Regions from separate parts of the Homo sapiens genome. Here region 1 is linked to region 2. Evidence: promoter capture Hi-C in human tissues and cell types (Jung and others, 2019). All regions are on one chromosome and are shown on one strand. Each heading gives the region's core, a stretch centred on a gene start or on the middle of the fragment in contact. The rest is flanking DNA. Distances are from core to core; before and after follow the strand shown. Region 1 has its middle 24 kb from the start of MCHR1. Region 2 holds the start of DNAJB7 (DnaJ heat shock protein family (Hsp40) member B7).

Evidence for each region. The method cuts DNA at HindIII sites, captures the fragments that hold promoters and counts their contacts. A contact is called where the count stands out against the background at its distance.
Region 1: a fragment that was not itself captured here is called in contact with the fragment with the promoter of DNAJB7 in region 2 in 1 of the 25 tissues and cell types used here (small bowel).

What each region holds. Positions count from the first base shown.
Region 1 is chr22:40,700,897-40,706,425 of GRCh38, forward strand. No RefSeq gene overlaps it. Among named protein-coding and RNA genes, the nearest start is that of MCHR1, 24 kb to the left of the region's middle. The HindIII fragment of the contact is 6,289 bases long and covers 1-4,581 here.
Region 2 is chr22:40,860,863-40,866,909 of GRCh38, forward strand. It overlaps DNAJB7 (DnaJ heat shock protein family (Hsp40) member B7), which reads right to left and starts at 1,251. Exons shown (of 1, transcript NM_145174.2): 1 at 1-1,251. The coding sequence starts at 1,132. The coding sequence ends at 203. All of the region lies in intron 1 of XPNPEP3 (X-prolyl aminopeptidase 3), which reads left to right. The HindIII fragment of the contact is 4,259 bases long and covers 1-3,622 here.

The DNA of each region.
Region 1 (5,529 bases), core at 187-2,686, 160 kb before region 2:
ACTGTCTCAAGAAAAAAAAAAAAAGAAAAAAAAAGAAAACTTTGGAGAAAATGTGGTTTCAGAAAGGGTGAGCTGACCTGTCTCTTCCTGCATGCAGCAAGCCATAAGGATTCCTCTGGGAGGGGTACACTCCCCTTATCAGGGGGGTGAAAATATCCCTTATCACCAGAGACTGGAAGTTGGGGGCTGCAGTGCAGTGGACCTGAACAACTATACTTCATGAAGTAACCTTTATTTTCTTTTCCTTTTTTTTTTTTTTTGAGACAGAATCTGTCTCACCCAGGCTGGAGTGCAATGGCACAATCTCGGCTCACTGCAACCTCTGCCTCCCGGGTTTAAGAGATTCTCCTGCCTCAGCCTCCCGCGTAGCTGGGATTACAGGCATGCACCAACAGGCCTGGCTAATTTTTGTACTTTTAGTAGAGATGGGGTTTCACCATTTTGGCCAGGCTGGTCTCAAACTCCTGACCTCAGATGATCCGCCTGCCTCGGCCTGCCAGAGTGCTGGGATTACAGGTATGAGCCACTGCACCTGGCGCCCGAAATGACCTTTCTATTCTGCTGGTTGTATACCCTCCCATACATCTCCCGGTGACTCCCTTAGAAATTTACTGCCCGTAACCAGATCCCTTTTGCCCTGTTATTTCTTCTCAAATGTATTGTTCTTTGTCGAAAAAGTATAAATGCATCTTACTTTGGCCACTTCTTCAGACTTCACTCTTGTGAAGATCCCTGTGTACATGGAAAACTAATAAAGCTTATATGCTTTTATCTTGCTACTCTGCCTTGTGTCAATTTGGTCTCTAGATATAGCTGAGAGCCCACATAAGAGGCACATGAGGTTGGAGGTGATCTCTCACTCTGCTGCAAAACAAAGCCCTAACCCCCAAATGTGTTAGTATCTGGAGATGGAGTCTTTGGGAAGCGATCCGGTTTAGAGGAAGTCTTGAGGGTGTGGCCCTTATAAGAAGAGACATCAGAAAGCTTGCTTCCCCTCTGCCTCTCTCCACCTGCACACTTCTGTGAGGATACAGAAGACTGATGTCTGCAAGCCAGAAAGAGTCTTTTATTTATTTATTTATTTTTGAGATGGAGTCTCACTCTGTCACCCAGGCTGGAGTGCAGTGGCACAATTTCAGCTCACTATACTTTCTGAAGTAACCTTTCTTTTTTTTTTTGAGACAGAATCTCCCTCTTTCGCCCAGGCTGGAGGGCAATGGCGCAATCTCGGCTCACTGCAACCTCCACCTCCCGGGTTCAAGCGATTCTCCTGCCTCGGCCACCTGAGTAGCTAGGATTACAGGTGCCCACAACCAAGCCCAGCTAAATTTTGTATTTTTAGTAGAGATGGGGTTTCACCATGTTGGCCAGGCTGGTCTTGAACTCCTGACCTCAGGTGATCCGCCCACCTCGGCCTCCCAAAGTGCTGGGATTACAGGCATGAACCACCACACCCGGCCAAGTCTGGCCAGGAAGAGAATCCTCAGCAGGAATGCAATTGGCTGGCACTTTGATCTGGGACTTCCCAGCCTCCAGAATCAGGAGAAATAAATGCCTGTTGTTTAAGCCGCCCGGTATTTTATTATATCAGCCTGAGCTGACTAAGATGATTTGTGAGAGCTTTTTTTGTTGTTGTTGTAAATGTTAGAAATTTAACTCTGATTTGAGCAAAAAGGGGGAATGTATTGGCTTATTAAAGGGAAACGTTGAGGACTAGATCTGGCTTTAAGTCATGACTGGATCCAAGGGCTCAAGGCCATCGGGACAGACATTCCCTTTCTCTCTTCCTCACATTTTATTTTATTTTATTTATTTATTTTTTGAGATGGAGTCTCGCTCTGTCATCCAGGCTGGAGTGCAGTGGTGCAATCTCAGCTCACTGCAACCTCTGCCTCCCAGGTTCAAGCAGTTCTCTGCCCCAGCCTCCCGAGTAGCTGGGATTACAGGCCCTCGCCACCACGCCCAGCTAATTTTTTTTTTTTTTTTTTTTGTATTTTTAGTAGAGACAGGGTTTCACCATCTTGGCCAGGCTGGTCTTGAACTCCTGACCTGTGATCCACCCACCTCAGCCTCCCAAAATGCTGGGATTACAGGCGTGAGCCACCGCGCCCACCCTCTTCCTCACGATTTATCTCTCCTCACTGTCTGGCTCAGTTTTCCTCTCTTTTGGCTTCCTTCTCATAGGGGATGTTCTCCCAAGTGGTAGCAAAGATGGTGCCCAGCAGGCATGTAAACTTGCCTTGTTCCTACTGGCAGCAGCTCCAGGAATTAGCATATCTTCTTTCCTGCTACCCGGTACTCCTTGCCACCTTTCTCCCCAGTGTCTGTTTCAAACCCTGAATAAGCCTCTGATTGGTCCTGTATGAGTTACATATCTTCCCACTTCCACCCAATCAAGCATGAAAACCAGAGAAGTGGAACACACTTATTGGCTAGGATCAGTCACATGGGTATCCCCACTGTGTCCTTGTCTGTGTCTCAGCTTGATACATTCTGTGTTCTCAGATCCTCCTGGGGTCTGTTTTGCAACATGTGACAAGAAAGTAATCTGGGCTTGTTGAAGTGGCTCATGCCTGTAATGCCAACACTTTGTGAGGCCAAGGCAGGAGGATCACTTGAGCCCAGGAGTTTGAGACCAGCCTGGACAACATAGGAAGACCCCATCTCTATTAGAAACAAAGAAAGTTTAAAGTAGATTTAGAGGTTGAAAAAAAAATAAGAAGAAAGAAAGTAACCTGGTTGCAATTACGTGGTTGTAACAGCAGCCTGGAGACAAACCAATTCATTGCAAAAGGGAAAAACGAGAGAGTTTGGTTCATGGCAGTTCTGCTGTCTCTCTATCCTAGTCTCTCCAGAAAAAAAGGCCCAAAAGCTAAATGCCGGCAACATTACCAACCCTGGACAAAGCTCTTACTTGCCAGACAAATGGACTTTGGGCACATGCTGCCTGGCACCTCTGCCTTGCATGGTGTCCCCTCGGGTCAGCCCACCCTCCCTGCACTAACCATCTGAGACCAGCTGGCTGGCACAGCAGGCCCACCCAAGCCTGGAGAGTGGCTGCCCCGCCTCAGCCTGGCCGCCAGCCAATAAGAGCTTTGCCAGAGCTTATACATTTCTGGTGGCCTCCCCAACTCTCTTTCCTTCCTTCCTTGGGAAATGGAGTAAAGAGCAAGAAACCAGAAATTAAGAAAAATCTTCTGAAGGAAACGGGGAAGGGAATCTTAAATGCCATCCATCTTTTCGGTAAAGCACTCCTAAATGTGACCAGTCCCCTGCTGTCTCCATCTCCTTGACCACTCAGTCGACCACTCTCTACTTTATTTATTTATTGAGACAGAGTCTCACTCTGTTGCCCAGGCTGGAGTGCAGTGCCACAATCTTGGCTCACCGCAACCTCCACCTCCCTGGTTCAAGCAATTGTCCTGCTTCAGCCTCCCAAGTAGCTGGGACCACAGGCACGTACCACTACACCCAGCTAATTTTCATATATATATATATATATATATATATATATATATTTTTTTTTTTAGTAGAGATATATATGTTTATATATATATATTTTTAGTAGATATATATATCTATATATATAGATATATATATATTTTTTTAGTAGAGAAAGGGTTTCACCAAATTGGCCAGCCTGGTCTCGAACTCCTGGCCTCAAGTGTTCCTCCCGCCTTGGCCTCCCAAAGTGCCGAGATTACAGGCATGAGCCACCTCTTTACTGATGCCTCTCAAATCCTTATCTCCCTTTCTGACCCCCTGGTTCGAATATTTCCATCTGTTCACATGACAATTCTATCATCCCAGACTCAATAAAGTGAAACCATTTTCCATTATCTTTCTACCACTTACCATCCACACTAACTTACTCTCTAAAATTCCCCATTTCTAGGCCGGGAGCAGTGGCTCATACCTGGAATGCCAGCACCTTGGGAGGCTGAGGCAAGCGGATTGCTTTGAGCTCAGGAGTTTGAGACCAGCCTGGCCAACAAGGTGAAACCCTATCTCCACAAAAATACAAAAATTAGCTAGGCATTGGTGACTTGTGCCTGTAGACCCAGCTACTTGGGAGGCTGAGGCTGGAGAACCACTTGAACCTGAGATGTGGAGGTTGCAGTGAGTTGAGATCATACCACTGCACTCCATCCTGGTGACAGAGTGAGACTCATTCTCAAAAGAATAAAATTAAAAACAAAAAAATCCCCCATTTCCATTCAGGATATTCTGTCCCTTGCTCTTCATTCCTAAAAAGAACAAACTATTTTTCTCTACACACTCACTGTAGTTTCTCTACCATACTTTGCTTCTGACACCAAATTTGTAAGAAGTTCTCCCACATCAAACAATGCTCCAATTAGCATCAGGGGATGCTGACCAGGTGTCTTACAATTAAACTCGATTCTGACACGAAGTGCCTGGAGTTAGTGGAGACCCCACAGGTTAAGGGCTCAGTCCCACAAGACTCCTCCCAACCTCGGTTGCCAATTGATAGTGGCTGGGCCCGCGGTTACTCAAAACCTCTATCTGACTTGGCTACAAATCAGAGGTTCCCTCGATCCCCCTCTTCAGGTTCAGTTATTTACTAGAACAGCTCAAAGAACCCAGGAAAAGTTTACTTCCTATTACAGATTTTTTACAAAGGCTATTTTATTTATTTACTTATTTATTTTTGAGACAAGGTCTTGCTCTGTTACCCAGGCTGGAGTGCAGTGGCGTGATCTCGGCTCACTGCAACCTCTGTCTCCCGGGTTCAAGCAAGTCTCCTGCCTCAGCCTCCCAAGTAGCTGGGATTACAGGTGTGACACCACACCTGGCTAATTTTTGTATTTTTAGTACAGATGGGGGTTTCACCACGTCAGCCAGGCTGGTCTCGAATTCCTGACTTCGAGTGATTGGCCCTCCTCAGCCTCCCAAAGTGCTGGGATTATAGGTGTGAGCCATCGTGTCCAGCCTACAAAGGATATTTTAAAGGTACAAATGAACAGCCAGGGGAAGAGATACCCGGGATGAGGTCCAGAAGGGTCCCAAGCACAAGAGCTTCCATCCCCTTGGAGTTTAGGGTACGCCGCCCTCCCCGCACGTGGATGCCTTCTTGTTCATCAACTTAGAACCCTTCAGGTTAGGGTTTCTATGGAGCCTTGATTGATTAAATCATTGACCATTGGCGACCGGCTCAACCCTTTGGGAGGGTGTGGCTGAGAATTCCAACCCTGTAATCATTTGGTTGGCTCCCCCAGCTCCCAGCCTTCATCCTTAGGGACTTCCCTAAATCACCTCATTAACATAAACTCGGGTGTGGGCCAAAGGTGCTTGTGATGAATAACAGAAGATTCTCCTTTCAATCCTTCTGGAGCTATTTCAGGAACTAGGAACGAAAAGCAAATATGATAACACCAGATGCTCCTTTTGGTTTCTATCCCTTAGAAAGTAACAAAGGTATTAGGATCTCTGGCCAGGAGCCTTATATTACATTATTTCACACATTTATTCCTTCCATCTGATTTCTGGTCTCAGAAATACCTAGGT
Region 2 (6,047 bases), core at 1-2,500:
CAAATTCTTATTAGCACCAACTGTCACCACAAACTCATCCTTTTCTGACATACCCATTCAAAAAAACTACTAACCAAATGTCCACAATCCTGCTAAAAGTGTTGAAAAGCTCTTAGTATAGTATTAAGTGTTATCTACAAAATTTGTGATTAACCAAAACACACACAATTGTGTTCAAATGTTATATATTTGAAGAGTCAATTTAACAATTCCTTTTGGTAGACTTCTTTTGCACCTCTTTACGCTTCTTTTTTTTCCTCTTACCACCCTCTTTGACTCCTGCTGAGAAAATAGGGGGATCTCTGTTGCTGGTAACCCAAGATATACCTCCCTCATCATTGTCCACGAAAGTATATTGAGATACATGTTTGGAGCTGTGAGAATTTGGTGAATAGTTGTTGAATGACTGTGTTCTCCAGCTGCATTCTTTTGCAAAGCCCTCTTCATTGGCCACACTATTTACAAGAAAAAATGTCAACTCTCCATTATCTTCAGCTTCTCTTTCTTGATCACTTTCAATAATTTTCTTTGTATTAATATTTCTGCCATTAACGATTTTGTCTGAAGTTGTAACAGATATGTAGTTGTCCATCCCACTATTATCAAAAGCCAGGGAAGAGAAAGAAGTAAGGCCTTCATGCCCCAATGAACCCTGTGATGTATATCCTGTATCATATGAAGAAAATTTCTCAAAAATTGGATATTCACTGGCAGTGGAGAAAAAGTATCCTGCATCTCTGTTTCTGTTTCCATAGGAGCTTCCTGGACGATTTAACAGGTCCTCAAGCGAGTCTTCAAAGAAGTGAAAAGAAAATGGATCCCTTTCATGAAAAATTTCTTTAAAAACATCATCTGGCTTATGGAATGTGAAGCCGTACTCACATTCATCATCAAAATGACTTCCACCTCCGTTTAATCCTTCTGTGCCATATTTATCATAAATGTCCCGTTTCTCATCATTTGATAATACCTCGTATGCCTCAGCTACTTCTTTGAATTTTCTCTCTGCTTCTTCTTTATTTTCTGGATTTTTATCAGGGTGCCATTTAAGTGCCACTTTATGATAAGCTTTTTTAATGTCCTCAGGTGAAGCATATCTTTGCAGTCCTAGAACTTCATAGTAATCCACCATGTTTTAACAGATAGTTGGAAGTGGGTGTGCTGGGTATTGAGAACCGTGGTTTCCTCAGCTCAGGCTCTGCTGGTGGTGGTGATAGAGGTAGTGACTGCAAATAGGTACACTTTTATGTTAAAGACAATGTTATTACCATGTGCTAAGAGATGAGGATACTGATTATGTGGCAAGCAGAGTTACAAATATGTCAGAGAGGGCTGCATTATGGTGTCATTCTGGGGTCAGTGTAGGGACTGGACCTTCCAAATAGAGCTAGTCCAGAGTCGTACCAGACCATCCTGAATCCTCTGGACTGTTTCCCCTGTATGTTTCCCTGGAAGCTTCAGGCAGTGCCTCATAAGCCAATGGAATCTGTTGCTAATAGCCACAGCATATCCCTTGCATAATATGACCTCTAGATTACTGCGCCTTAATTGCTTCCCAGCTCTTCTATGCTTTGGTTTAGAAAAATGAAGTACTGACTTACGGGTGAAGAAAGTATTCAAACAGTTGACATATTTATTTCAGTCAAGAAACAGTTCAGAGGGAGATACAAACAAGTAACTTAGTTACAATATAATAGTTATGATGAGAGGAAGTACTGGATGCTAAACAATTATATGAGAGACAGCTCAGGCTGGGGGTGTCAATGAAAGCCTCTTGGAGGAAGTAGCCTGATATGTTAACTTTCTGCATGCCAGTGGTAAGTCATTTGAGATTATAGTATCTTTGTCCACCCAAGGTTTACTGCTGTAAAACATGTAATTAAAGATTTGGAAAGTTGTGTGTTTATGTATTCACTGTATAATTATTGATTGTCTACTTTGTGCCAGGCACCGTTTTAGCCACTGGTGATAGCAGTATTGAACAAAAGACACCAGTTTTCCTGGTGCTTGCATTATAATAGAATACAAATAGGAGAACAAATAAAATAATTTAAGATAATGCGATATGTGCTCCAAAAAAAATAGCAATGTGCTGGGGGCAGAGCGCTACTTTAGATTGGTTTTAGAAGGCTTCTGAGGAGATGACATTATTGCTGAGACCTATATGACAGTCAGCCACATAGTGATCTAATATGGTAGCCACTGGCCATGTTGATGGACATTTTGGTTGTTGCCAGTTGGGGCTGTTGGACATAAAGCTAGCACTTATTTCAAGTACAGTGGGAAGCCTTTGTGGGGAGTGGGGAATATGCAAGTTTAATGATGTGATTTACATTTGTAATGGATCAGTGGCTACTATTTGGAAATTCAGTCATGTATGGGAAAGTAGAATTCGAGAGCCAAATTAGAAACAGACCAAAGGTGATTTTCTTTGGGGATAAACTACCAGTAGTCTAGACCCGAATTTAAAGGTCTTATATTCTATACCTGGCTCATTTTATTGTCTGAGAAAATTCCCTGTAATCTTTGTTTTTCCTCCTCTATGTTGTGTTTATTTTATTTTCCATCACATTTATAACCCCTCAGTTAAATGATACGCTAATGAAATCTAAAACTGTAGTGTATGCTTCTAGTCTTTCAAGACCATTTGTCAGGTCTGAATATTTTTTTGCTTTGCATTTTTATATATACTCATTTTTTAGAGGTATTGTGAAATGCTTAAAACTCAATTTAAATTCTCTCCAGTGTATGTGCTTACATGTACTTATGTGTGGCTTACCCATGATTATAATTTGCCTACCACTGGAAATAATAACCAATAATGTCGAAAATTATTTGAGTACCCTCTGAGTCACACTGTAGCAAGTGCTCATTTAACTGACACAGCACTCTAGCAAAATAAATATTTTATGCCCATAAGAAAACAGACGTTCTGAGAGAGAAAGTAATTTGTCTAAGGCTACATAGCTTGTTAGTGAAAAATCTGATTTTTAAACTTGAGTCTAATTTCAAGTTCTCATTCCACTCTACTGCATTTCTCGGACTAGGACTTAAAGAGTTTAGGTTCTAGGCATTCCACAAACAGATACTGAGAACCTGCTGTTACCGGAAAGGGGTCCCAATCCAGACCCCAAGAGATGGTTCTTGGATCTCGTGCAAGAAAGAATTTCAGTGGAATCCACAGAGTAAAGTAAAAGCAAGTTTATTAAGAAAGTAAAGGAATAAAGAATGGCTACTCCATAGGCAGAGCAGCCCCAAGGGCTGCTGGTTGCCCATTTTTATGGTTATTTCTTGATTATATCCTAAACAGGAAGTGGATTATTCATGCTTCCCCATTTCAGACCATATAGGGTAACTTCCTGACGTTGCCATGGCATCTGTAAACTCTTGGGGTGCTGGTGGGAGTGTAGCAGTGAGGACAATCAGAGGTTACTGTCATTGCCATCTTAGTTTTAGTGGGGTTTGGCCAGCTCCTTTTTTTAAGAACATCACAGGTAAAGCTCACAGGAAGGTGACAGTCTAGGAGAAGATGTTCGCAGTGTCTAAATTTGACAGGGACTTATTTTATTTTCATTATTATTGTTACTATTATTATTATTTGAGGTGGAGTTTCGCTCTTATTGCCCAGGCTGGAGTGCAATGGTGGGGTCTTGGCTCACTGCAACATCTACCTCCCGGGTTCAAGCCATTCTCCTGCCTCAGCCCGCTGAGTAGCTGGGATTACAGGCATGCACCACCACGCCCGGCTAATTTTGTATTTTTAGTAGAGAGGGGGTTTCTCCATGTTGGTCAGGCTGATCTCGAACTCCCAACCTCAGGTGATCTGCCCGCCTCAGCCTCCCAAAGCGCTGGGATTACAGGCATGAGCCACCGCACCCAGCTGGTCAGCTTCTTTACTATAACCTACCTGTTTTATTAGCAGGGTTTTTGTGTCCTGCATTTTGTGCTGACTTCCTATTTCATTCTGTGATTAAGACTGCCTTAACTTACTGGGAATGTAGCCCAGTAGGTCTTAGCCTTATTTTACCAAACCCCTACTGAAGATGGAGTTGCTCTGGTTCAAACGCCTCTGACACTATGATACAGAGAAAAGGTAGAAAATAGGAAATTCTGCTCTTAAGAAATTCATATAGTTTGAAAAAACTAATTTCAGTGGAGTGTAAAGTTATAATACGAGCACTTGTTTCTGCAGTTATACCCTTCTTTGTTGATCCTTTGCCTCCCAGCCATCCGCTGTGCCATTTTCTCTGCCTCTTCACAACAAAACTTATCCAGAGTATTGTCTCAGTGTCTTTGCTTTCTTACATCCTATTCCCTCCTTGGCATACTCCAATCTGTCTTCTGTCTTCTTTACTCTGCTAAAATCGCCAGGGTCTCCAGTGATTGATGTTACCATATCCAGTGGTTGTCCTTTTGGCTTCCTTGTATTTTGAAGCACTTGCCACACTGTGAGCCCTCCTCACTTTTTTTTTTTTTTTTTTTTGAGATGGAGTTTCACTCTCGTTGCCCAGGCTAGAGTACAGTGGTGTGATCTCGGCTCACTGCAACCTCTACTTCCCAGGTTCAAGCCATTCTCCTGCTTCAGCCTCCCGAGTAGCTGGGATTACAGGCATGTGCCACCATGCCTGGCTAATTTTGTATTTTTAGTAGAGACAGGGTTTCTCCATGTTGGTCAGGCTGGTCTCGAACTCCCGACCTCAGGTGATCCACTTGCCTCGGCCTCCCAAAGTGCTGGGATTACAGGTGTGAGCCACTGCGCCTGGCATAGTCCTCCCCACTTCTTAAAACACTTGTTTTTTAACTTCCTAAATACCACACTCTTTTTTTGTGGGGGGCGGGGGGGCAGCGGGTAGAGACAGGGTTTAGCCATGTTGGCCAGGCTGGTCCCGAACTCCTGGCCTCAAGTGATCTGTCTGCCTGCCTCGGCCTCCCAAAGTGCTGGGATTACAAGCATGAGCCACCATGCCCAGCACTAAATACTGTACTCTTCTAGTTTTCCTTCTTTCTCCTGTGCTCTTTCTCACACTAAAATATTACAGTGCCAGGCTTTGTTCAGTCTCCCTGGGTAATACCCATTCCCAGGGCTTTAGATGCCATCTGTGTGCTTATAACACCCTAATTTATATATCTAGCCTAGCACTTTTCTCCCTGAAATTAAGATTGCTCTTTGACCTCTCCATTAAATTTATTTCCAATAAATATCTCAGGCTTTCCTGTTGCATGTAGTGGTACAACCATTTATTCACTTGTTCAAGTCAAAAATCAAGAATTATTCTTAATTCCTCTTTTTTCTTTATTTCTTATGTCCAATTAGAAGCCAGACTCATTGACTTTTAACTTCAAAATACATTTCAAATCAAGTCACTGGGAAAATAAAGTCAAATAACAAGTGATCTCTGCTTCCAAAGATTGTTCATAGTAGACTGGCAAACTAATTAGCAATTATGTGAAGTGTAGTAGGTATTAAAATAGAAATCATAGGAGCGTTGGGGAAGACATCTGAAACAAGCAGAACAGAGGCAGTAGGTGTGAGAAGAGTAAGAGAAGTCTCTTGCGTAAGTGATGTTTGAGCTGGTATTTTTTAGAATTTCTGTAATCGTATAAGCAGGCAGTGTCCACTTTAGACTAAGAGAACTATATTTTTTAATGCAAATGCTATTATGATGCAGAATGATTTAGCCGGGGTTCTTCAAGTAGCTTAGTGTGGCTGCAATAATGTTTTTTGAGGATTAGGTCAGATAAGGGAGCAGGATCCAAATCATGAAGTTTCCTAAGCAAAAGAGTTTGAAGCTTATGAACTGGATATTTTTGAAATAGGACTTAACACACCAGCTTTGCTACTAATTATATGACTTCGGGCAAAAGATGTTTAATGTAAGTAAAAAGCTATTGAGACCTTTTTTAAAAATTTACTGGGAATAAACATCTTAATTTATGTCTCCTGTTAAAGTGTTACTTGTTTGCTTTGAATTTAATAAAGTTAAGCTCCCTCTGCTTGAGAGTGGTCCAAAATATGCTAGGATTATTTCATATGAGCATTGAAAAAG